Regions from separate parts of the Homo sapiens genome. Here all the other regions are linked to region 3. The links are contacts of gene promoters, found by promoter capture Hi-C in blood cells and fetal thymus (Javierre and others, 2016). All regions are on one chromosome and are shown on one strand. Each heading gives the region's core, a stretch centred on a gene start or on the middle of the fragment in contact. The rest is flanking DNA. Distances are from core to core; before and after follow the strand shown.

What was found. The method cuts DNA at HindIII sites, captures the fragments that hold promoters and counts their contacts. A CHiCAGO score of 5 or more calls a contact.
Region 1: the fragment with the promoter of CFLAR here is called in contact with the fragment with the promoter of ALS2 in region 3 in 3 of 17 cell types (monocytes, total B cells and neutrophils); the score reaches 5.4 in monocytes.
Region 2: a contact is called between a fragment that was not itself captured here and the fragment with the promoter of ALS2 in region 3, in 1 of 17 cell types (erythroblasts). The highest score is 6.5, in erythroblasts.
Region 4: the fragment with the promoter of ORC2 here is called in contact with the fragment with the promoter of ALS2 in region 3 in 1 of 17 cell types (neutrophils); the score reaches 6.7 in neutrophils.

What each region holds. Positions count from the first base shown.
Region 1 is chr2:201,112,753-201,118,089 of GRCh38, forward strand. CFLAR (CASP8 and FADD like apoptosis regulator) reads left to right here and starts at 3,412. Exons shown (of 10, transcript NM_003879.7): 1 at 3,412-3,729. LOC105373836 (a long non-coding RNA gene) reads right to left here and starts at 3,932. Exons shown (of 3, transcript XR_923785.3): 1 at 2,192-3,932. RefSeq lists enhancers at 3,398-3,657, 5,298-5,337 and a silencer at 3,688-3,897. The HindIII fragment of the contact is 6,122 bases long and covers 1-4,447 here.
Region 2 is chr2:201,257,853-201,263,209 of GRCh38, forward strand. CASP8 (caspase 8) reads left to right here and starts at 2,684. Exons shown (of 9, transcript NM_001372051.1): 1 at 2,684-2,761. RefSeq lists enhancers at 259-388, 348-492, 489-548, 569-988 and a cis regulatory region at 420. The HindIII fragment of the contact is 954 bases long and covers 774-1,727 here.
Region 3 is chr2:201,778,714-201,784,725 of GRCh38, forward strand. ALS2 (alsin Rho guanine nucleotide exchange factor ALS2) reads right to left here and starts at 2,220. Exons shown (of 34, transcript NM_020919.4): 1 at 2,164-2,220. RefSeq lists a silencer at 1,890-2,059 and enhancers at 2,190-2,259, 2,270-2,499, 2,510-2,579. The HindIII fragment of the contact is 4,023 bases long and covers 165-4,187 here.
Region 4 is chr2:200,960,930-200,967,049 of GRCh38, forward strand. It overlaps ORC2 (origin recognition complex subunit 2), which reads right to left and starts at 2,731. Exons shown (of 18, transcript NM_006190.5): 1 at 2,561-2,731. It overlaps LOC105373835 (a long non-coding RNA gene), which reads left to right and starts at 2,503. Exons shown (of 3, transcript NR_187976.1): 1 at 2,503-2,701. RefSeq lists an enhancer at 1,964-2,033 and a silencer at 2,742-3,140. The HindIII fragment of the contact is 10,169 bases long and covers 1-6,120 here.

The DNA.
Region 1 (5,337 bases), core at 2,162-4,661, 660 kb before region 3:
GTGGAAACAGAAAGTCAGAGAGGCTTAAGCAATACTGCCCTTGGACCCAGGCACTGGGGGTCCTGTTGTGGGCCCTGATTTAGAAGGGCCTTGCTCCGGCTCTTCTTGGGCTGTGCCCTTCCCTCAGGTGAGGAGAATCATCAGAGGTGGGAGGAGTCTGCAAGGTCAAGAGGACATGCCCACACCGAGACCCTCTGTTTAAAACCCTCTTTGGGGCTGGGTGTGGTGGCTCTCGCCTGTAATTCCAGCACTTTGGGAGGCCAAGGTGGGCAGATCACTTGAGGCCAGGAGTTCAAGACCAGCCTGGCCAACGTAGTGAAACCCTGTCTCCACTAAAAATACAAAAATCAGCCGGATATGGTGGTGCGCGCATATAATCCCAGCTATTTGAGAGGCCGAGGCAAGGGAATTGCTTGGGCCTGGGAGGCAGAGGTTGCAGTGAGCCAGGATTGTGCCACTACACTCCAGCCTGGGTGACAGAGTGAGACTACGTCTCAAAAAAACAAAAAGAATAAACCCTCTTTGGGTACCTAAGACCTGAAGTTCTCTACGCAAAGAGCCCTGAGCCTCCCACCAGGGCCTACATTGGCCTCTTCCCCAAGTCCATACCCCAGGGACAAACTATGCTGCAAGTATGCACATCCCTAAGCCCAAGGGGTGGCTGATTTTAAGAGGATGTAAATGGAAAGTGGACTGCAGGTGGGAGTGTCAACATAGGTGTATACAGTCATTCTTTGAGGGCTGCTGAAGCCAAAGGATAAGGATGGCACAGGGGTAGGGGGTTAAATGCCTGCCCCTACTGGTTTGCCAAATGGGATGACAACATGGGCTTCCAATGTGAGCCAGAAAAAGCCCTCAGGGAACGACATATGGATATGCTGGGTTAGAAGTCATACTGGTGTGTGTTGAAGTGGTAAGAATCAGTGGGCATGCAAGGTGGGCCTGGGGTAAGTCCACTATGATGGTTCTACTGACAACCAGAAATGGCTTTCACTTGGGATAGGGTGGGTTGGAGGTGGTGATGGAGGTGCTAAGCTAGGTGTTCTTGAATAGTAGTTTCCAAATTAAGGACAGGTGCTGATCTGTAATAAAATTTTCTTGGTGTACTAAAAAGATAAGAAAGGCCAAGAGCAGCAGTGGTCATGCCTGTAATCCCAGTGCTTTGGAAGACCTAGGCAGGAAGATCACTTGAGGCAAGTTCAAAACCAGCCTGGGCAACATAGCAAGACTCCCTGCCACCCACGACCCCCGCTTCTACTAGATATATATATATATATATATATATATATATATATTTTTTTTTTTTTTTTTTTTTTTTTTTTTTTTGAGATGGAGTCTTACTCTGTCTCCCAGGCTAGAGTGCACTGGCATAATCTAGGCTCACTGCAACCTCCGCCTCCCGGGTTCAAGCAATTCTCTGCCTTAGCCTCCTGAGTAGCTGGGATTACAGGCGCCCGCCATCACACCCAGTTAATTTTTTGTATTTTTAGTAGAGATGGGGTTTCACTATCTGGGCCAGGCTGGTCTTGAACTCCTGACCTCGTGATCCACCCGCCTCAGCCTCCCAAAGTGCTGGGATTACAGGCATAAGCCATTGCGCCGGGCCACAAATTTTTTTTTAAAGAATTAGCTGGGCATGGTGGCACCTGTAGTGGCACACCTAGCATGGTGGCATGCTAGGACCTGTAGTCCTAGCTACTCAGGAGGCTGAGGCAGAAGGATCACTTGAACCTGGGAGGTTAAGGCTGCAGTGAGCTGTGATCGGGTCACTGCACTCCAGCCTGGAGTGAGACCCTGTCTCAAAAACAAACAAAAAACCAAACTTGGATAACTGACAGAGTTTAGGATAGAATTACATGGAAAAACCAACAAAACAAGACAATTATTAACTCCAGAAAAAACTAAAAGTTGTGTGGGAAAGGAAAAGTAATCATAGTTTGGTACATAACTTGGCTGTGACTACCGTTTACATGATTATAATAGCATATATACTGAAGATTAATCAAACAGAATATAACTATCTTGGGAAGATGGAGAGATTAAAAAAAAAGGTTGGGGGTGAATATGGGGTGAAAGTGATGGAGAAAAAGAGCTGAAGTCTCCTCTGGTGTCTCAGCACTCCACCCAAGGTAGAGCCTCTGGATGGAAGAAGGAATCTCCCACCTCTCCACCACACTCCCCCAGGATTTACCTTCAGCATCAGGTAGCTAGGGGCAAGATGAGAAATGCTGATATGCTGGTCTCTGACTGGGAGCTGTGGGAAGAGAGAGGTTCTGAGTTGCAGCAGTCTGGAGTGGAGTCTCTTGCTGAACAAAGGGAGAGGTTTGGTTTAAATACCACAGACTGACTCTCACATTCTGATCCAAGAGTTTTCATAGATTTTTTGGAACAGATGTTTCTTCATTTGCTGTTTGCCCTTAGGACCATTTCAAAGGCTTTAAATGGTTAATGGTTGTTTGTTGTTTTAAATAATTTTCAGTTTCACTAGGGGTGAATCCCGAGCTCTTCATGCCGTCCTGCTGTTAGTCTCTCTTGGTATTATTCTTCACCTTTCCTGTGAGTTTAAAATTATCTCAAGAAAAGTTAAAGCTCTTTAAGAATCACAATAAAGTAGTTATTAGGAATAAATAAAAACGTAGAGGGGCGCGGTGGCTCACGCCTGTGATCCCAGCACTTTGGGAGGCCGAGGCGGGCAAGGATCACTTGAGGCCAGCAGTTGGAGACCAGCCTTGCCAACATGGTGAAACCCCATCTCTACTAAAAATACAAAAAAAAAAAAAAATTAGTCGGGCATGGTGGCTTGCACCTGTGGTCCCCGCTACTTGGGAGGCTGAGGGCTGGATGGTTTGAGAGCGGGAAATCCAGGCTGCAGTGAGCTGTGATGGCGCCACTGCCTTCTAGCCTGGGCGACAGCGCGAGACCCTGTCTCAAGAAGGAAAACAAAAAAAAACAAACAAAAACATACACACAAAAAACCACAAAGTGTGTTCACGTTTGCTATGACTCCCAGACAACAATTGTAAACACTCGCGCCGGGCGTGGTGGCTCACGCCTGTAATCCCAGCACTTTGGGAGGCCGAGGCGGGCGGATCACGAGGTCAAGAGTTCGAGACCATTCTGGCCAACAGTGAAACCCCGTCTCTACTAAACACAAAAATTAGGCGGGCGTGCTGGCGCGTGCCTGTAGTCCCAGCTACTCGGGAGGCTGAGGCAAGAGAATCGCTTGAACTAGGAAGGCGGAGGTTGCAGTGAGCTGAAATTGCGCCACTGCACTCCAGCCTGGGCCACAGAGCGAGACTCTGTCTCAAAAAAGAAGGAAAGAAAGAAAGAAAAAAAAAAACACTCGCAGTGTTTACTCCTAACGCGTGGAACTTGTGTCGACATCCACCCCCGGTTACTGCATACTCAGTCACACAAGCCATAGCAGGAAACAGCGAGCTTGCAGCCTCACCGACGAGTCTCAACTAAAAGGGACTCCCGGAGCTAGGGGTGGGGACTCGGCCTCACACAGTGAGTGCCGGCTATTGGACTTTTGTCCAGTGACAGCTGAGACAACAAGGACCACGGGAGGAGGTGTAGGAGAGAAGCGCCGCGAACAGCGATCGCCCAGCACCAAGTCCGCTTCCAGGCTTTCGGTTTCTTTGCCTCCATCTTGGGTGCGCCTTCCCGGCGTCTAGGGGAGCGAAGGCTGAGGTGGCAGCGGCAGGAGAGTCCGGCCGCGACAGGACGGTACGTGCCCCGCGCTCGACCCCCGCGCTGGCGGCGCCGGAGCTGTCCCAGACCCCAAGCCCCGACGCCCGGCCCTGAGTCAGCATTGCAGCAGGCCCTGCGCCGCCGCGCCCCGCGTCCCACCCCGCGCCGCTCCTCACAGCCCTGCGCTCCGGGAAACTGCAGGTGGCCGGCAGTGGCCAGGGGATGGCGGGGGCGCTTCTGGAACCTGACTCAGTTTTGTAGGTTCCTTATCTCGGTTGTTTACCGCGGGCTTTGCGGAATGCCCCCGCTTCCGTTTCCGCCCGGCTCCGAACCCCCGAACCCCTTCTACCCGCAACTCCGCCCCGGATTCCCAGAAAGGGGCGACCTGGGCCACAGCGGTACAAGCTGCACCCCGATGGACCTGAGAGACCGGAAGTAACCCTTGGCCAACTCTGGCCGCCCCCTGCAGCCGCAGCCCCAGAGGCCCACCCGCGAGCTTCAGTGGCGGGCCCTCAGCGTCGTGTAAACTTTGCTTAAAATGATCTTGAGAGTTCAATTCTTGGGGTGAACTGTTGAGAAGATCTGGCATTTTTCCTTTCGAAAGTTGTTGGGAACGTGGACTTTCCCAACAATTGTGTATGCGCTCGATCTCACTCAGTGGGAGCCGCCGCCCTGGAGGGAATTTCACAATAGCCTGGTCAGGGCGGTTATTTTCCAGAGCAGTTTAATGTCTATTTTGCCCAAGTGCAAGGAAAGCTTGCCTTGGGAAAGCTGGGAATGCTTGGCTAATGAAAAGTTTTTAGAGCCTTTTAAAATGAACCTGTTTCTGCCACTTTTCCACCGCCTCAAAACGACTGGGAAATGTAAACTGGCTTCAAGATGTTCTTGCTTGAGGGTGTCTGGATTTGGACAGAAGGCCATGTTCTTTTAATATTAACAGTGGCACGCAGTAGAACAAAGGCCACTGAAATTCAGAATCAGTTTTTGGCTCCACGGGCAGGAAGTAAATTCAAGGACGCCAGAGGTCTTGCGAATATTTTAATTGGTTGACATTTGAAATTTGTTCTTAAGCAATGAGGGGTGAAACCAGTAGGGGGATAGCGTATAGCATAAGTAAAGCTTTTTGGACATCAACAAACTGCGATAATCTACAACAGACAGCGGGCTCTGGAAGGTTTGACCTGCTTTAGAGAGAGATTTCCGATAAGAGGAACGGAGTTTTTGGCACTTTTCGGTTTGGTGATTCCCCTAAATAACCTTACAAAAGTTTCGTTGAACAAAAAACCTGGCTGGAGCTCCAAGATCTTTTTTTTTTTTTTTTTTTTTTGAGACAGCATTTCACTCTTGTTGCCCAGGCTGGAATGCAATGGCACTATCTCTGCTCACCGCAACCTCCGCCTGTCGGGTTCAAGCGATTCTCGTGCCTCAGCCTCTCAAGTAGCTGAGATTACAGGCATGCACCACCATGCCCGGCTAGTTTTGTATTTTTAATAGAGACGGGGTTTCTCCATGTTGGTCAGTCTGGTCTCGAACTCCTGACCTTAGGTGATCCGCCCGCCTCGGCATCCCAAAGTGCTGGGATTACAGGCGTGAGCCACCATGCCCGGCCCAACTCCAAGATCTAAACAAAAAAGACTGGGTTGA
Region 2 (5,357 bases), core at 1-2,500, 520 kb before region 3:
TTACTTGCCACCGACAGGGGTTATTATTACTAAATGGAGTCAGTATAAATGCTTTCCAATAAAGCATGTCCAGCGCTCGGGCTTTAGTTTGCACGTCCATGAATTGTCTGCCACATCCCTCTTCTGAATGGTTGGAAATTGGGCATCTGTTCCTTTAAACAGGAAACATTTCTTGTTCGAGTGAGTCATCTCTGTTCTGCTTTAGGAGTAAAGTTTACCCTGCAGTTCCTTCTGTGGTGAAGTTTTCTCTTTCTCTCGGAGACCAGATTCTGCCTTTCTGCTGGAGGGAAGTGTTTTCACAGGTTCTCCTCCTTTTATCTTTTGTGTTTTTTTTCAAGCCCTGCTGAATTTGCTAGTCAACTCAACAGGAAGTGAGGCCATGGAGGGAGGCAGAAGAGCCAGGGTGGTTATTGAAAGTAAAAGAAACTTCTTCCTGGGAGCCTTTCCCACCCCCTTCCCTGCTGAGCACGTGGAGTTAGGCAGGTTAGGGGACTCGGAGACTGCGATGGTGCCAGGAAAGGGTGGAGCGGGTGAGTGCCTGTTGCCAAGGTGGCCTCTTCAACAGGAAACCACAATATTTTTGTTTCTTGACTTGCTCTAGAAACAGGGCTGTGGGGGTGGGGAAGCAACTTGGATCTGCCCTTCTGAGGACACCTCTGGGTGCTGCCTGGCCCAGGTCTCCTGTGTGGTTTCTCTCTGAGCCGTTGCCTCTGACTTTGCTACTTTTTCACTCTGAGCAGTCTCCAGTTCCTCTGCTACCTTTTTGTCCTCCAAGCTTCCCTGCCGCCTCGAATGCAGATACACGGTCTCCCTCCTGTGGACCCGTTTGGAGAGTCCAGAAGACTTTATCAATCCACTTTTTTTTCTTTTTCATTTGGCCCTGGGGCCGACGGTTAAGTACTTTATTCTGTCATTCTGTCGAATCACGATGCCCTGAGGTGCACAGCCCCTTCCCCCTCTTCCGTGTCTGAAGGGTTTCCTTTTATCTCTCCACCCCCACCCTTGCCCTCCTGCCCTCTCTCTTGTTCCCCAAAGACAGTTCTCTAATGTTTTGATGTGGATTCGTGAATTTATCTGTATCTTTGCAAAATGTATTTTTCTTTTGTATGTGTACACTGTTTTTTAACTATGCGATCTCAGGCAAGTAATTCCTCTGTGCCTCTGTTATCTCATCATTAAATGATTAATAATGCCTCCAGAGGTGACTGTGAGGCTTGAAGGAGATAATACGCATACATCACTTACTACACGAGTTAGCAATTATTATTGCATATTAATACTATTGGTATTTTATTTTGCTCATTCTGTTTCTATTTCTTTTTTATTTATTTATTTTTTGAGACAAAGTCTTGCTCTGTCACCCAGGCTGCAGTGCAGTGGTGCAATCACGGCTCACTGCAGCCTCAACATCCTGGGATCAAGCAATTTTCCCATCTCAGCCTTCAGATTAGCTGGGACCACAGGCGCGTGCTACCACACCTGGCTAATTAAAAAATTTTTCTTCATAGAGATGGTGTCTCATTTTGTTGCCCAGGCTGGTCTCAAACTCCTATGCTCAAGGGATCCTCCCACCTTGGCCTCTCAAAGTGCTAGGATTACATGCATGAGCCACGGTGGCCATCCAGGCATTGATATTATGAGGCCATCTTGACCTAGCCCTCTCTGGTGAAGAGTCCTTTTCAGATACTTCGTTCAGTCTTCTCAGCTATGAGTCCCTACCCTCTGAAAGCTTATATTCTATTTGGGGAAAGACAAAAGGCAGTTTCAAAGAAGAGAGGTGTTTGATTTTCTTTTCCTACTTTTAATATCAGAAAACATTTCATCTAACTCTCAGTATGAAGGCAATATTTTGTTTACTGGTATATCCCTAGAGCCCAACATGGTGAGGGCCCCAGGATTTGCTTCTTTGATAAGATGGTAAACCCAGCTTTCAGCTAACTTCATGGTTTCCTCAGCTACACTCATATACAAGGATCACCTTTGGTAAGATGGACTTACCATCTTACCAAAGAGTTTTTGCATTTTAGAGTTTTTTCTTTTTAGATTTTTTTCATTTTAGAATTTTTTTATTTCAGAGTTTTTTCTTTTTAGAGGTTTTTCATTTTAGAGTTTTTTCTTTTTAGAGTTTTTTTTTTTTTTTAATTTTAGAGTATTTTAGGCTGCTGAGGGTGGAATCTGGTGACCTTGGGGCCACAGAGATGCTCCTTGGCTAAACCAGGGGCTTTAGCTCTGAAAGTTCACAGCCACCCTGAGAACCAAGATGAGAGGGCTCTGCAGTGTCCAATCTCAAGACCTCTCTGAGGTGCTCCATCAAGATTCATTGAATGAAAAAATTAAAGTCTTAATGATGAACCCAGAAAAATCTTTAAATCCTAAATATGAAATGAAAGTGTTCTTAGTTACAATCCAGTCCAACGTCCTTGTTTTGGAATGTGGAAATGAGGCCCCAAAGGTAAAATGGCCCATCCAAAGTCACAGCCAGGGGCCAGTGCTCAGGTGGCCAGGTGCCCTGCGTGCGGTCTCCTGGACCACCAGGCCTTTTTCCTGCAGCTTTAGAAGCTTTAGAAGGCACTCTGCTCACTCAGGGGCAAGTGGTAAGCGCTCTTTCCCCTCTAGTGTTTGTGACTCAGGAGTTTCGAAACAGGAAGTAGAGCTGGCTGGCTGTGCCCTTCCGTCCTTCATTAGACGTTTGCTCTTGTCTTAGATGCTCAGATGGTAGTGGATAGGCCTGTGACGAAGGTGCTACCATCGTGAGAGTAAGGTAAGGATTTGCCTCTTTGTTAAGGTCAGAGGGGCCTTTTGGGAGGAAGGCCTTTGATTCTGGAGTTTTCTAGGCTGCTGAGAGTGAGATCGGGTGGCCCTGGGGCCATGGAGGTGATCCTCGTATGTGAGTGTGGATGGGGAAACCATGAAGTTAGTGTAAGAGGTAGCAGTCCCTCTGAGAGCCTTGCCGAGGGCCGTGCAGTTTCCAGATCTGAAGGCCATTCTAGCTTAGACTGATGAAGTCCTAGGAGCTTCTGAAATGCTGCAAGTTTAACTACTTGTATAAAGGCCTCATCCTGATCCCAGTCAAACTTGTGAAATAATAGAAGCCAAAATTTAAATCTCTACTGACTTTGCTGCTACAGCTATCCTCCCACCAACACACATACCCACCAACATACACACTTGCCAACATAAACGCACACACACATACACACAAACACACCCATGTGGTCCTACTAATTCAATTATTTATTTTTTAAAGAAATTAAAAAAGACTGGGCGTGGTGGCTCTCGCCTGTCATCCCAGCACTTTGGGAGGTCGAGGCGGTGGTTCACCTGAGGTCGGGAGTTTGAGACCAGCTTGACCAACATGAAGAAACCCCGTCTCTACTAAAAATACAAAATTAGCCGGGCATGATGGCGCATGCCTGTAATCCCAGCTACTCGGGAGGCTGAGGCAGGAGAATCGCTTGAACCTGGGAGGTGGAAGTTGTGGTGAGCCGAGATCGTGCCACTGCACTCCAGCCTGGGCAACAAGAGCGAAACTCCGTCTCAAAAAAAAAAAAAAAAAAAAATTAAAAAGATACAGAACAGTTCAAAAAACAATATAATGGGAAGACTAGATAGACACAATCAGAGACCTGCACTTGTGGGGTTAAGAATTTACAGGTGAAGTTGCAAGTTTCATTCTGTTTGAAAATGATGGGATTATATGTTTTGCTGAGGTTTGGACACCTTTGCTGGGTTGTTTGAATGCCGTGGCTGCAGCGCCCTGTTATGGACATCATGTGCGTGCAGAATGGATGTCTGTCAGGTTCCGGGGCAGCCCGCAGTCTGAGGCAGCCAGCCTGGATTGGAGGGAGTGGCAATACTACCTGCCGGTTAGGGGTTTGGGCCTGAGAGCGAGTGGCTTTCAGGTTCTCTCAAGCTTCGGATGAGATGCAGGTTTCTGCTTCCGATGGCAAATGCATGTTTTGCTTTTTAGTTATCACTGCAAGAGCTAGGATGCTGCTAGAATATTACTGGAATGATTGTGATGAGATGGAATGTATTTACAGTTTAATTGTGACATGTAATACAGTGGTAGAATGGGACTCTGGAATGAGATGCTGGGGCCTAGATTCTAGCACTTCCTTTGTGAGGCTCTAACCCCCTCTCCTATAGTGGATTTGTTAAGAACTTCTGTTTTTGTGGCTTTGTTATTATAAAATTTTTTGAAATGTTGTTCTCTAAAAAAGTTATGATTTTATGTTTTTCTTCATGAGATTCTTTCACTGCCTTCCAGCTGCAAGTAGAATGACGTCTAAATCTTTGTGATCTGTCACTGAAGCCCTTGAGTGAGACACTTAAATCTGGCTGTGGCTCTCTCTCTTACTAGCTTATTTCCAAGCCGTGATTTTTCACAACAGAAAAATGGGGACAGTAATAGTAGTTTCTTCAGAGGCTTTTAGTGAAATGAGGTTAAAAAATATTTTTATGTTTATATGGATATATAGATTACAAACATTTATATATCATTTATTTATATGATTATTATAAACACATATTTATATTTAAATACTTTGGGGCATAAATATATAAAATAATAAATATACTTATGTAATACAAATAGACTTATATACATTTACTATTTAGCAGAGATTATATAAAATATATGTATTACATGGCAACATATTCAAATTTACATATGTTATATATACATGTGGAAAAAAAATTGGGAAAAGGCCACAAAATGTGACCAAAGAATTACTTCCAAATGGCAAGTTTTTAAGTAATTTTTATTTTCTTTTTATACTTCTCTGTACTTTCTCTATGAAACAAGTGTTACTTTTACTGTTTTTAGGAACCAAAAATACAAGTACATTGTTTAAAAAATACTAGCTTAACAAAGTTTCTAGCCCATAAGCTAGTGCAGAAAATCTAGGTCCCATAAAACAAGAACTGCCACACGATGTCTCTCCCCTTACAGTGCTGGATGGCCCGTTGTTAATGGTGTCATAAATCCTTTGCAAGTGACTGTTTTCTAGGTACTATGACTAGAGGGATGTGTAACTTAAGCAAAAAACAAAAAACAGAAAAGGCTGACTATCATCTGACAGTGTATCCTGGAACACCTAGGCCAGAGAAGAAGCCACGTTAGCATTTTCCCTTCTAAATGTCAGTTATGATTTGATGGGGAAACCACTTAAAAAGCATTGTCACGTTGTTGAAAAGGTAATGAAATGAGTGAGATGAGATGGCTATGGAGGACGGAGCTATGCGCCAATCTTATTATATCCAAATTCATGTCATCTCAGCCTTGGATTGTATTGATTTTTATTATATACTGTCAGAAAATGCTATTGAATGTGTAACAAGAGCCTCAAAAAGGT
Region 3 (6,012 bases), core at 970-3,469:
CTACCAGGAAAATTCATATCCTGAATACACTTGAAATACGTGGTAGATTTAATTCCACAAAGTTATAAAAAGAGCTAAATGATTTAAAAGTCACAAATCCTCACAGCATGCCTCTGAGTGAGAAAGGTACCTCATAGTACCCAAAGCGGGCCTTCCTTTATACAAGCTTAAAAATCACCACTCTGCCTTTCTTCCTAGTTTTTCAACTCATACTTTACCTAGTCTCACATTAATAAATAATTGTAGATTTTTACAAGTCAGTCACATTTTTGAGATTATCATTAGAATGGACCCAGCAGCTACTGCTTTAAACCCAGTTTTCATGAAAAGGTAGGAGATTCCACCTAATTACAAAAACACTAACATCAAGACTCATTGAAGTTCTTAGCATACCCTTTGCTTCTTTAACAGTCAAAGTGCCCAAAGTAAGTGTTTCAAATGACAGCCCAAATTCTGAAAAACTGAAATTTGGAGAGAAGGGATTCCTGTTTATATTGAGTACATTTAAAAAGTAAATGGCCTGCATAATGCCACTCAAGTTTTGTTTTTTTCCCAAAATTATCGGTTTGGTATTTCATTTTTCTGGATCATTACAGTTTCAAATTTTAACACTGTTAAACAACTTTGACGTTTTCTTGCTATAATTATGAATTTTAAATCTGCTAATACTGGTCATAGTTTAGAAACTAATAAATTCAAACCATGTATAGATTCTGTCAGTATCTTTTTCACATTAAAATGTCCTTATGGAACACCAAAATTACTACAGAACAACTTGAAATCATATTTTATAGCTACTTCCTTAAAATATTCAGTTCCCTTCCCCATCACTTAAGAAAAGAGTCAGTTTGGATCATGATGTAGTGGGAGGAATTAATTATAAAAACAGCTAATATGTATTGAATATTTACCATAAAACAGGCACTGTAATAAATACGATACATGAACCATTACACGTAAAGGTACTGTTATCAGGAAAACATTTTTATCCCCAATTTAGAGACAAGAGAACTGAGGCAGAGAGATTAAATAACTTGCCCAAAATCAAAGATGTAAATGGATGTGACTCTGGGTATGTTCAGATACAAAGCCTAGAATCTTAACCACTATGCTTATGTTATCAAGGTTAAAACACCGTAGTTTACTGCAAAAAATTTTTCACTGCTTTAAATTATTCATTAACTCAAAGGTCAACCGGTCACTCCAAATCATATGATAAATGGGGGGGAAAATGTGGGACCAATAGGTTTGCTGAAGTTTTGTACCTGCTCAGAATAAACATATCACACAATTTTATTCCATATAGCCAAATATAAGGGTAACTGAGTAAAGATCTTCACTTGGGTACAGCAGTCAGTTCCTTCTCCATCCTAAACCAGAAAGAAAGCACTGTTCTTGGATATGCCACTTCAACAAGAGTGTTTTTTCTCTTCCACCATCAAAGCCTTAAGCAATAGAACGATTCTACCAGTCTACTGTTGCCTGTCTCCAAAGCAGCCCTATTATCCGAGGACGAACACCAGCGTCAAGGACCTGTGTTATTTTTCTGGCTTCGCTTCTCAAAATAACTTATCTTCTCCTCTTGATGAATTACTTGATAGGCTCAAAGACTTGCCTAAACTACTAATTCTTATTATCAAAGCTATTTTCTTTCTCCGCAACCGCCTTTTCAAGTAGCCCTTGGTCCACTCTTCAACGCGATTTGCACCCTGTGGCAAGGCCGCCAGGGACACTCAGCAGGGTTCCAGGCCACGGACCCCAGTTTATCAGCTCAGCGCCTAGTGTGGGCATTCAAGAAATTCTCGTGAATGAATAGCTGGAAGGCAGCGTGGGTGGAGGCGGGAAGAGGGGGCTTGAAGGAATTTCACGCAGCTGAGACCACTGCAGCGGCGCCCAGTCTGGGGAGGGAGAGACCGGGGCAAGTGGGAGAACCTGGGGCCAAGGCAGGGGCCGCCTCGGGCGCTGCTGGACCGGCAGGAGCAGTCGATCGCACCCAGAGCTGGGAAAATGCGGGCGCCGTCTCCGCAGGCCCCCCGCAGGGCGCTCTCCGGCCTCGACCACAGCCTCCGCCTAGCTCCCTGTCCCCGGCCTTCCGCATACAAGGGGTCCCAGCCGATAAGCCCTCCTTAGCCAATAGCCAACCCGGGACCCACACTCGCTCACCTGAAGCTCCACCGGCAGCACCGCGCTCCGCATCCGGCGCGAGCTTGGCAACCCAGTGGGTCCGCGGGATCAGCTGATTCATGGAGGGCGGGGCCTCCGGACAGGGCGGGGCTGCAGGGCGACTAGCGAAGGTAAACGAGGGCGCGGGCGGCTCTTGGAATCCGAGCTCCTGGGAATTGTTCTTGGGAGACTGTCGACGGCGTCTGTTGGGGGTCAAAATTGCTGAGAATGCGTTAGGCACTGCAGGCTACGTACTTGGGAGCACAGTCTCTCCCTTAGTTTAGGGCGGAGCTATCAGTCCTGAGATGCGCTTTGATGATGACGTAGAATAGAGTCGTCCAAGCCTAGCTACCCGAGCGCTCCCATGGTAACAGGCGGTGGTGAAAGTGGTTGGGAGCAGCAGTCGTTTGTTACCACCTCAAACTGCAAGGGCCGGAAGTATAAAAGTAAAAAGGCTGAAATATTTTCAAATTGCCTTTATGGACAGTACCCTAACAGTGGTCGCTTCTCCCCCCTACTCCCGCGAATGACGTCATCGCCTCGCGGCCCCGTTTCGCCATTGTATCCTCAATGTGTAAACTTACTGGTTAGTTGCAACCCCAAAAGATGGGGTGGGATAGGAGAAAATGAAGTGGCCTCTCCAGTGATTCCCGTAGTACTCCCCAATATACAATCAGTAAAATCAGCTTTCTTGTCCCGCGCACAGTTTCATAACACTGTTTTTCGCAGCCACAGTCCCACCCCACCCAGCCTGCACTCTCAAGTCCTCCCATGATTTTATGATTTTCCAGAGCTGCCACTCATGTCGCACAGTGGGTGCAAACCTTCTGCTGCTAGGCATTGTGCCATCGCTGGACCTGCAAACATGCAAATATTTAGACCATCAACGACAGATGTGTAGTCGGGTTCTGAAACTCCTATATCCTATTCACCAACACCCTCAACTCAATTTCCTCCCTGATCCTTCGCCCACCTGCAAAACTGTTAGTCTGCAACAGTTCAACCAACCTTGCTCACTCCTGCATCGGTGCAGAAAATCACACAACCCTGAGAATTGGCACCACTGCGAACGAAAAGTGTCCAACTTCAGTCGGGACTTCCACGTGCGACTACGCAATATTGCTGAGCCTAAGACAGTCACATTTACACATTGCTACTCAGATTATCTCCTATTCCCCTCCCCTGCTGTTCCCAGCCCTCACGCTCTTCTAACCTCTTACTGAACTCTACTCACTCACCCGCTTTGGTAAAAATAAAAATAAAAAATTTTGTCTCTTACATCTCTGAGGAAAGTGAGACCACTAGAGGTGAATTTCCTTAAATCCCAAATCCCATCAGCCACTACCACAAAACCTACCTGCAACCAGTTTTGATTTGTTTTGTTTTGTTTAGAGGGAGTCTCGATCTGTCGCCCAGGCTGGAGTGCAGTGGCGCGATCTCGGCTCACTGCAACCTCCGCCTCCCAGGTTCAAGCGATTCTCCTGCCTCAGCCTCCCAAATAGCTGGGATTACAGGTGCCCGCCACTACGCCCGGCTAATTTTTGTGTTTGTAGTAGAGATGGGATTTCACCATGTTGGCCAGCCTGGTCTCGAACTCCTGACCTCAATTGATCCACGTGCCTCAGCCTCCCAAGGTGCTAGGATTACAGGCGCGAGCCACCGAGCCCCGGCTCCTTTTCACCGAGTCCTTTTCTTCTCCCTCTTTCTTCTTAGAAGATCCTGAACTCAGGATCCCTAATCTCCCCAAAGGAAAGACTTTGTTCTGTTGATGAAAAAAGACAAACTTTATAAAATATTTGAAGAGGTTAAATATACTCTGATCGAAACATGAGTAACCATGGCCTGGGACACAGCCTCAAGAAGTCCTGAGAACATGTGCCCAGGGTGGTTGGGTTATAGCTTGGTTTTATACATTTTAGAGAGACAGAAGTTATAGGCAAAGACATAGATCAATACATGGGGGGCCGGTGGTGCTCACAGATTATAGGTGGATTCAGAGACTTTATGATGGGTTGAAAAAGCTAAGCTTTTCCTAAAGAGTTGAAGTTAGCAGAAAGAAATATTTGAGTTAAAATGAAGGGGGTTATAGAAGCCAAGGTTCTTGTTACGTAGATGAAGCTTCCAGGTAGCATATGTTATAGGACCTTAAAATGTGTCAGACTCTTGGTTAAATCTCTCCTGGATCAAGAAAAGACCTGAAAAAGGAAAGTGATTCTGTATAAAATGCAAATTCCCCCCACAAGAGACAGCTTTGCAGGGTCATTTCAAAATATGTCAAAGAAATATATTTTGGGGTAAAATATTTTTATTTTCTTCAGGGCCAACTATCTGTCTTGTAATGCTATACCATAGTCAGGTTAGAGTTGGATAATCTTATTGCTACAAGAGTCTATTTTGTCAGTCTTATGATCTCTATTTTCATTTCATGAAAATGGTTTAGACCACTTTAATGCTGGTCTAAACTCCAAAGGGAGAGGATATAATGAGGTATGTCCAACCTGCCTTCGCATCATGGCCTTAACTAGTTTTTAAGGTTTTCTTTAGGATCCCCTTGGCCAAGGAGGGTGGAGGGAGATCTATTCAGTTGGTTGGGGGGGCTAAGAATTTCATTTTTTTATTTACATTTCCATTACTTATCCCTTCTCCTTCATGTATTTTCAACCTCTGCCTGTCTTCTTATTCCTATATACTTACAGTGTATAAACCTGCTATCTATCTCATCTTTAATTTTTTTACTTTCTGCCTTTTTTCCTTTCCAACCTCATTTCCTACCTCTACTTTCTGACTTCCCAGTCTTCCTCACCATTTCCTTAAGTCTACTGAAATCAATAGTCATCTTCTCATTTTGTAATCTAATGGTACTGTCATAGAATGGAAGCATTCTATGCAACCATCTAAAACAAAGAGGATGATCTCTATATACTGATATGGAATGATCTGGAAATTAGGAGATAAGAGAAAAAAGCTAGATGCTAAGTCCTGTCCATAGTAGTCTACCAATTGTGTGTTATGTATGTCTTTTCAGGAGAGAGATAGGTAGGTTGGAAGATAGTGTAAACTGAAGAATCACCTTTCTAAATTTGAGATATACAAATTGTCTCAGATTTAGAAAGGAGACTTCGTTTTTTTTTTTTTTCTGAGACAGAGTCTTGCTCTGTCACCCAGGCTGGAGTGCAGTGGCTTGATCTCAGCTCACTACAACCTCCGCCTCCCAAGTTCAAGTGATTCTCCTGCCTCAACCTCCCGATTAGCTGGGATTACAGGCACGCGCCACCACACCCAACTAATGTTTGTATTTTCAGTAGAGATGGGGTTTCACCATGCTGGCCAGGCTGGTCTCAAACTCCTGACCTCGTGATCCACCCGTCTCGGCCTCCCAAAATGCTGAGATTACAGGTGTGAGCCACTGCACCCCGCTGAGACTTCTTTTCTTATAAAGAGTTATAACCTGCAAGGTGGCCATACTGACAGGCTTGGAAGTATAGCCTACAGTAGAGACCATTAGCAGGCATTTTGAAGGAGGAACGATTGAGTCAGGAGCTGAATGGGTTGGCTAAACATACACATTGAACAGATTGAATATTCACTAAGGGGGGTCCTGACACATGTATACTGAATAGCATGCATGTTACATGCACCCCATGTTCACTTTGGGATAGAGACTTAACATTAATTGCATTACATAATTATAATATCATTTTGATATAGAGGGCAATTATAATTATGTAATGCATTTAATGTTGAAGGTGAAGCAGGAATACAAAGGCACTTAAGTGCTCAGCCACTGTGAACTAGCCAGAACCAGTCCATGGCCGGTGGTCTCTTATCAGGAGAAAGTTACTGAAATCA
Region 4 (6,120 bases), core at 1,481-3,980, 820 kb before region 3:
CCACACCCAGCTAATTTTTGCATTTTTAGTAGAGATGGGGTTTCACCATGTCGGCCAGGATGGTGTCGATCTCTTGAACTCGTGATTGGCCCACCTCAGCCTCCCAAAGTGTTGGGATTACAGGTGTAAGCCACTGCACCTGGCAGATTCCTAACTTCCTGACCACTCTATTACACCACATACCTCTCCTGCCATCAAATAAAAATGTTATCATAAATGCTTGGTTTTTTTGTTGTTTTGGGTTTTTTGTTTTTGTGGGGTTTGTTTTTTGAAACAGGGTCATTCAGCTCTGTCACCCAGGCTGGAGTGCAGTGGTGCGATCTCAGCTCACTGCAACATCTCACCTCAGCCTCCTGAACAGGTGGGACTACAGGCGTGCAATGCCAAGCCTTGCTAATTTTTGTATTTTTTTGTAGAGACGGGGTTTCCCCATGTTGCCCAGGCTGGCCTGAGCTCAAGCAATCTGCCCACCTCAGCCTCCCCAAGTGCTGGGACTGCAGGTGTGAACCACTGTGCTGGACGCTAAATGCTTGTTTTGACCTCTGAAAACCATTCATAATAGGTCTAATTATTTCTCTACATGTCAATTAGGGTTAGGGTATTCTATAGCAGGTAACTATAGAATGTCCAAACTGGAAAGTTTCTCTAACTTTCCAGTTCATTGGGTGAAACATCACTAGTTCTATCAAGCATACTTCAAAGAGCATGGCCAGAGTCAGCATAATCTACATTATTTTACTTAATTATACACTGCTGTGTACTACAAAGGATTTGAAGCAGTGACAATGAGCAAATGCAATAAAACAAATTATAATTTATAAATGCTAATAGGGAGTCTGCATCAGAAAAAATATAAAGGAAAGCAGAAAATAAAATCACACAATGAATTTTTGGCTCTGAGCTTCCTGGCAATCAAAGCAAAAAGCAAGTAAAGGTCGGTTACGTAATTCTTATTGGCAAAAGTTTAGTTGTTCTTGGGGATGTGGGGACAAGATTTTCTAGGAAAATTTAAAAACAAATATTCTAGGCAACTGAGTATTGTCCTAGGCAATTTCCCTATGGTATTCTACACAAGAATTGCCTGGAGAGAGGCAGCCTGAGACTTGTTTGTAGCCAAGTGCATTTATACAAACATTTCCTTTTCTAATTTTGGAGCATCTTATTAAATAGTACAAAATCACCAAATTAAAGAAAATGTCTACAAAGACCTCATGAGAAACGTTTCCTTCTTTGCTTTCCAACAGTTCCTGAAAAACAAACGAACAAAAAAACCTAACAATCACACAATAAAATGCAATATTTAGTGACCATTATGACCCCTCAAGGCACTGCCTTGGTGCTTATAGGCCAACCCCTTTCAAGGAGTTACTTCAAGGCAATTCTGCAGCACCAAGTGTTAGCATTGCACCAAGTGGTAGCAACACACTCTCCTTTGAAAACAAATAAAAGATTTGCTGTAATTTTTAAAAACATAATCCTTTGAAAAAGAAGGTTGGATAGATTAGTGGTTAAACACCAATTTTAATATTGGAGAAACCTGAGTTCCAATCTCCACTCCATACTTTATAACTGTGTGACTTTGTCCAAAGTCCTGACGATTAAATGAAATGATGTGCCTGATATATAAAAGAGCATCACTGAATGCTCCCAATTATCGGTATTTTTACTTTAACCTTTTTCTTTTTTAGCTCCTTACTGCAGTGCACTGAGATATTTTTACTTTAAACTTCAACTTAACCATGCAGATCTCTTGTACATCTCTAACTCATTCAACATCTAACAGAAAAACTGCTCAATAAGTGATGATGTCCGTTTAACGTGCAGTGCCCTTATATAACGGTGTAGGGCCGTGCTATTTTTCTTCAGATTGCAATTTAACTGCGGGAAAGTGTAATGATTCTATTAGGATTTCAATTGTAAAATGAAAAGTAACGTCTCAACATCTTTTTAATTAAAAAGCTCTACCAAAAGAGCCTGGCTTATCAACATTTTACAGCCAAGCATGGCTCCAAGGTGACCGATCAGTTAGCTGGCAGGACACATTGGTGCCTCCAGGCTGGGATGACATCAAAGGTTCTAGCTACAGTGGTTCTGGGACGCGATCTCTTCCTCTTCATACCTCACAGGGCACTTTACCACTGTCGTTACACATCTTCACAGTTCTCCTTTTCCAACCAGAGGGCTTCGTAAGCTGGGAATCAGGTAGGTTAGTATCAGGCGTCCCTTGCACAAAAGGCCTATAACTGCGGGGCAGACTAACGAAAGGTCCTCCCAGAGTGAGCCTCTCACCTCAAGTCTTAAAGGACTTTGGCCTGCGCCTCCAGCCTCTGGCCAGTTGGCTGCGCTCCACCAGTAAGGGTTCTCGAGCCCCCGGGCAGCCTGCGGGGGGCAGCGAGGCGCAAAGACCATGCCCCAAGTGCCGAGGGAAAGTCCTGAGATGCGCGACTTGGGACGCTAGGGGCCAAGCTCCGACGCGGGGCTGGGTGCACCTGGACGCACCTCACACGCCGCGAGCTAAGCAGAAAAGGGAGGCAGGCTGCCCCGACACCCCACTACTCACCGCTAGGTTTCCGTCTGGCGCCGATCCGGCTGCGTCACGCCGGCCGAACGACACCCCGCTGAGTCGCCGCCGCAGGGAAGGTACCTTCGGCCCCAACGGGAAAAGCCAATTTCCAGTAATTCGCGCCCGACCACCGGGGAGGTAAGGAGCACCGGAGGCCAGCTGGGGGATGGGAAGCCTGCGTGCGGCACACCGAATCTCCCGCCCTGTTCAGGGGGCGGTGCCCGAGGAAGCCAATAGGAAGAGGAGTCGGCCAAGAGCGACGGCTCTGCCGTCCAGTCGGCGCCGGCCATTCGGCCCCGCCCATCAGGAAACCTGAGGAAAACGGATTCTTGGGCCCTGAGTTGTGGGCCTTACCTTTCCTTTCTTCTTTCCGTTTCCGGGGAAGGGAAAAGGAAGTGTTGTTTGGATCTGAGGAAGTTTGCACAGTAGCTGGCTGAGTGGTAGCTGTTTGTCTTGTAGCAATCTTTAAAAAGTGTTCTTTGGGGTCGGGCGCAGTGTCTCACGCCTCTAATCCCAGCACCTTGGGAGGCCGAGGCGGGCGAATCACCTGAGGTCGGGAGCTCGAGACCAGTCTGACCGACATGGAGAAACCCCGTCTCTCCTAAAAATACAAAATTAGCCGGGCGTGGTGGCGCATGCCTGTAATACTAGCTACTCGGGAGGCTGAGGCAGGAGAAACGCTTGAACCCGGGAGGCGGACGTTGCAGTGAGCCGAGATCGAGCCATTGCATTCCAGCCTGGGCAACAAGAGCGAAACTCCGTCTCAAAAAAAAAAAAAAAAAAAAAAAAAAGTGTTCATTGGTTTCCCAGCTACCTTTTGAAGAAAAAGGTAATGGAAATTGATTCGCATTTCTTTTTTAAAGATTTTCTTCATTTGGCGTGAAAGGTAGGATCTTGTACATCTCCAGGGTTTGGGGTAGGGAGAAGAAGAGACGTTAGGAGAAGCACTGAATATGGAGATGGGATCGGACGGCTAGTGGGATGAAGAGGCTGGGGAAATAGAATGAATAGACAGAGAAAATGATTGACTTCAACTATCCAAAATATAAAAAAGACAAGACAGAGAAAATGAGGAAGAAAAGGAATGAACCTGGATGGGATCCATACAGTATTAAGAACAGGGTATTGTTTCATTTGGATTCACTTACTCAAAACAAAACTACAGAGTACTCTGCGAACAGAAGATAAGTATTCATTATCGAGCGAGACAACTACGATCTCTGCATTCACTGTAGTTACCTAGCACGTGAAGATATTGAACGGACAATATTGAGAAAAATACCATGATATGGGAAGTGCATTGGAGCACATGGTAGGAGTAGCTAATTAAAAGCCCAGAAGGAGTCAGGAACAATTTTCTAGGAGGAAGAGATGTTTAAACTGAAACCCCTGTGTTGAATAGATTTAAAACAGGCCAAGAGGGGTAAAATTTTCCAGGTAGAAGGTCCAAATCCGTGTAACAGCTGTGTAAAATGCCAAGCATTGGGTCTGTTATTATGAAGGGCTTAGTTGGCCCTTAGGGCACTGGTCAGATTTGTATTGAAAGATCTTTGGATAAAGGAGGTAGGATTGGGAGGGAAGATATAGAGTCACAAGATTTGGGAGCTGTTTAGGAAATCCAGTTGAGAAAGAAATGATCATAGCCTTGATACCTCATTATTCCATTTTGGCTAGGTGGAGTTAAGAAAATGGAAGAGAAAGGCAATTTTTTGTGCATTATAAATAAGAATTTGGGGAGTGACTAGAGACAGAAGATAAAGAGAACATAGCTCAACAGTTAACAATGATGTGTTTGAAGAGTGTTTAAAAATGTGAAGATGACTAGCCCAGCACACACACCTGTAATCCCAGCTACTTGTGAGGCTGAGAAAAGGAAGATTGTTTGCATCCCAGAGTTCCAGGATGCAGTGAGCAGTGATCTCACTTGTGAATAGCCACTGCACTCCAGCCTGGGCAACACATCGAGACCCCATTTCTTAAAAAAGAAAAGAAATTTGAAAAAAAGATGAAGATCTAGGAATGTTGAATAGATATGTTCAACTTATGTGTGTTTTTTATATATATAATTTTTTTTTTTTGAGATGCAGTCTCCCTCTGCCGCCCAGGCTGGAGTGCAGTGGCAACATTACTGTTCACTGCAGCCTCGACTATCTGCTCTCAACCAAACCTCCCACCTCAGCTTCCTGAGTAGCTGTGACTGCAGGCGCACACCACCATACCCGGCTAATTTTTGTATTTTTTGTAGAGTGGGGGTTTCACCATATTGCTCTGGCTGGTCTCCAACTCCAGAGCTCAAGTGATCCACTCATCTCGGCCTCCAAAAGTGTTGGGATTACAGGTGTGAGCCACTGCACCTGGCTGTTTTTTTATATTTCTATGATGTCAGTAAACTCCCCTTCATTCCTCTCCTTCTCACATCTTGAAAAAAGGCTTCTACAGACCACAGAGGCCTTGGTGTGAGTGGTGGGTTTGGATGTAGTTTTTATGGTATATGTGTGGAAAATAGAGGGAAGGAGCTGAGTTTTGCTTTTAGGTTGACACTAAGATAAAAACAAAGAGCCATACCTTCAGAATGGAGACACAGGATTTAGGAGCAGCAGGAAGCTGAAGTCAGAGGGGACCATAAAATGGCAACTCCCCATGTATTCACGGAAATTTTGCGCAGGGCAAGTAGACTGTTCCAAAGGGGGAAATAGAAGCTCAATACTATAAGAGTAGAGGCACAAGCAGCTAATTGGGTAATAGTTTGAAATTTAGGGACTGGCTTTTAAAAATCTAATCTATGAAACAGGGTGAATTGAAGACTTTTTAAATACCAGTAAAATAATAATCAGAATTTTTTATTGAAGTTAGTAAACATAAAATTAACAGAATAGAAAAACAGGTTAACATAAGTTGGTTAGCTGGAATCCAGGCCTGAAAGGGGGAAGCCAGTAAGAAGCCTATTCCTTTCACAGAACTCCAGGTGGTAGTCTCAGGAATACGTTAAAAGCAGCATGGGTCTGGTGCGGTGGCTCATGCCTATAATCCCAGCACTTTGGGAGGCCGAGGCAGGTGGATCACTTGAGGTCAGGAGTGCAAGACCAGCCTGACCAACATGGTGAAACTCCGTTTCTACTAAGAATACAAAATTAGCTGGGCTTGGTGGTGCATGCCTGTAACCTGAGCTACTTGGGAGGCCGAGGCAGGAGAATTGCTTAAACCCGGGAGGCGGTGTCTGCGGTGAGCCGAGATCATGCCATTGCACTACAGCCTGGGCAACTATAGCGAAACTCTGTCTCAAAAAAAGAAAGAAAAAGAAAAAAAGCATGAAGCTGAGACTGGAGGATTGGTTGGAAAAAAAAATGGAGTATGAAGCTGAGACTGAAGATTGGTTGGGAGTCTTGAAACAATTAGATGCTAGATCTCCTGTCATACTTTGTGGAGGACCAGGAGATTATAAGGTGAACCGAGAGGATCTAGACTCTACCACTAGGCACAACTGAGAGTAGAAATGAGGTCATACTGAAATGGGGAGGATAAGCTCAGGACCTCGTCTTACTTGGCTCCCAGAACGC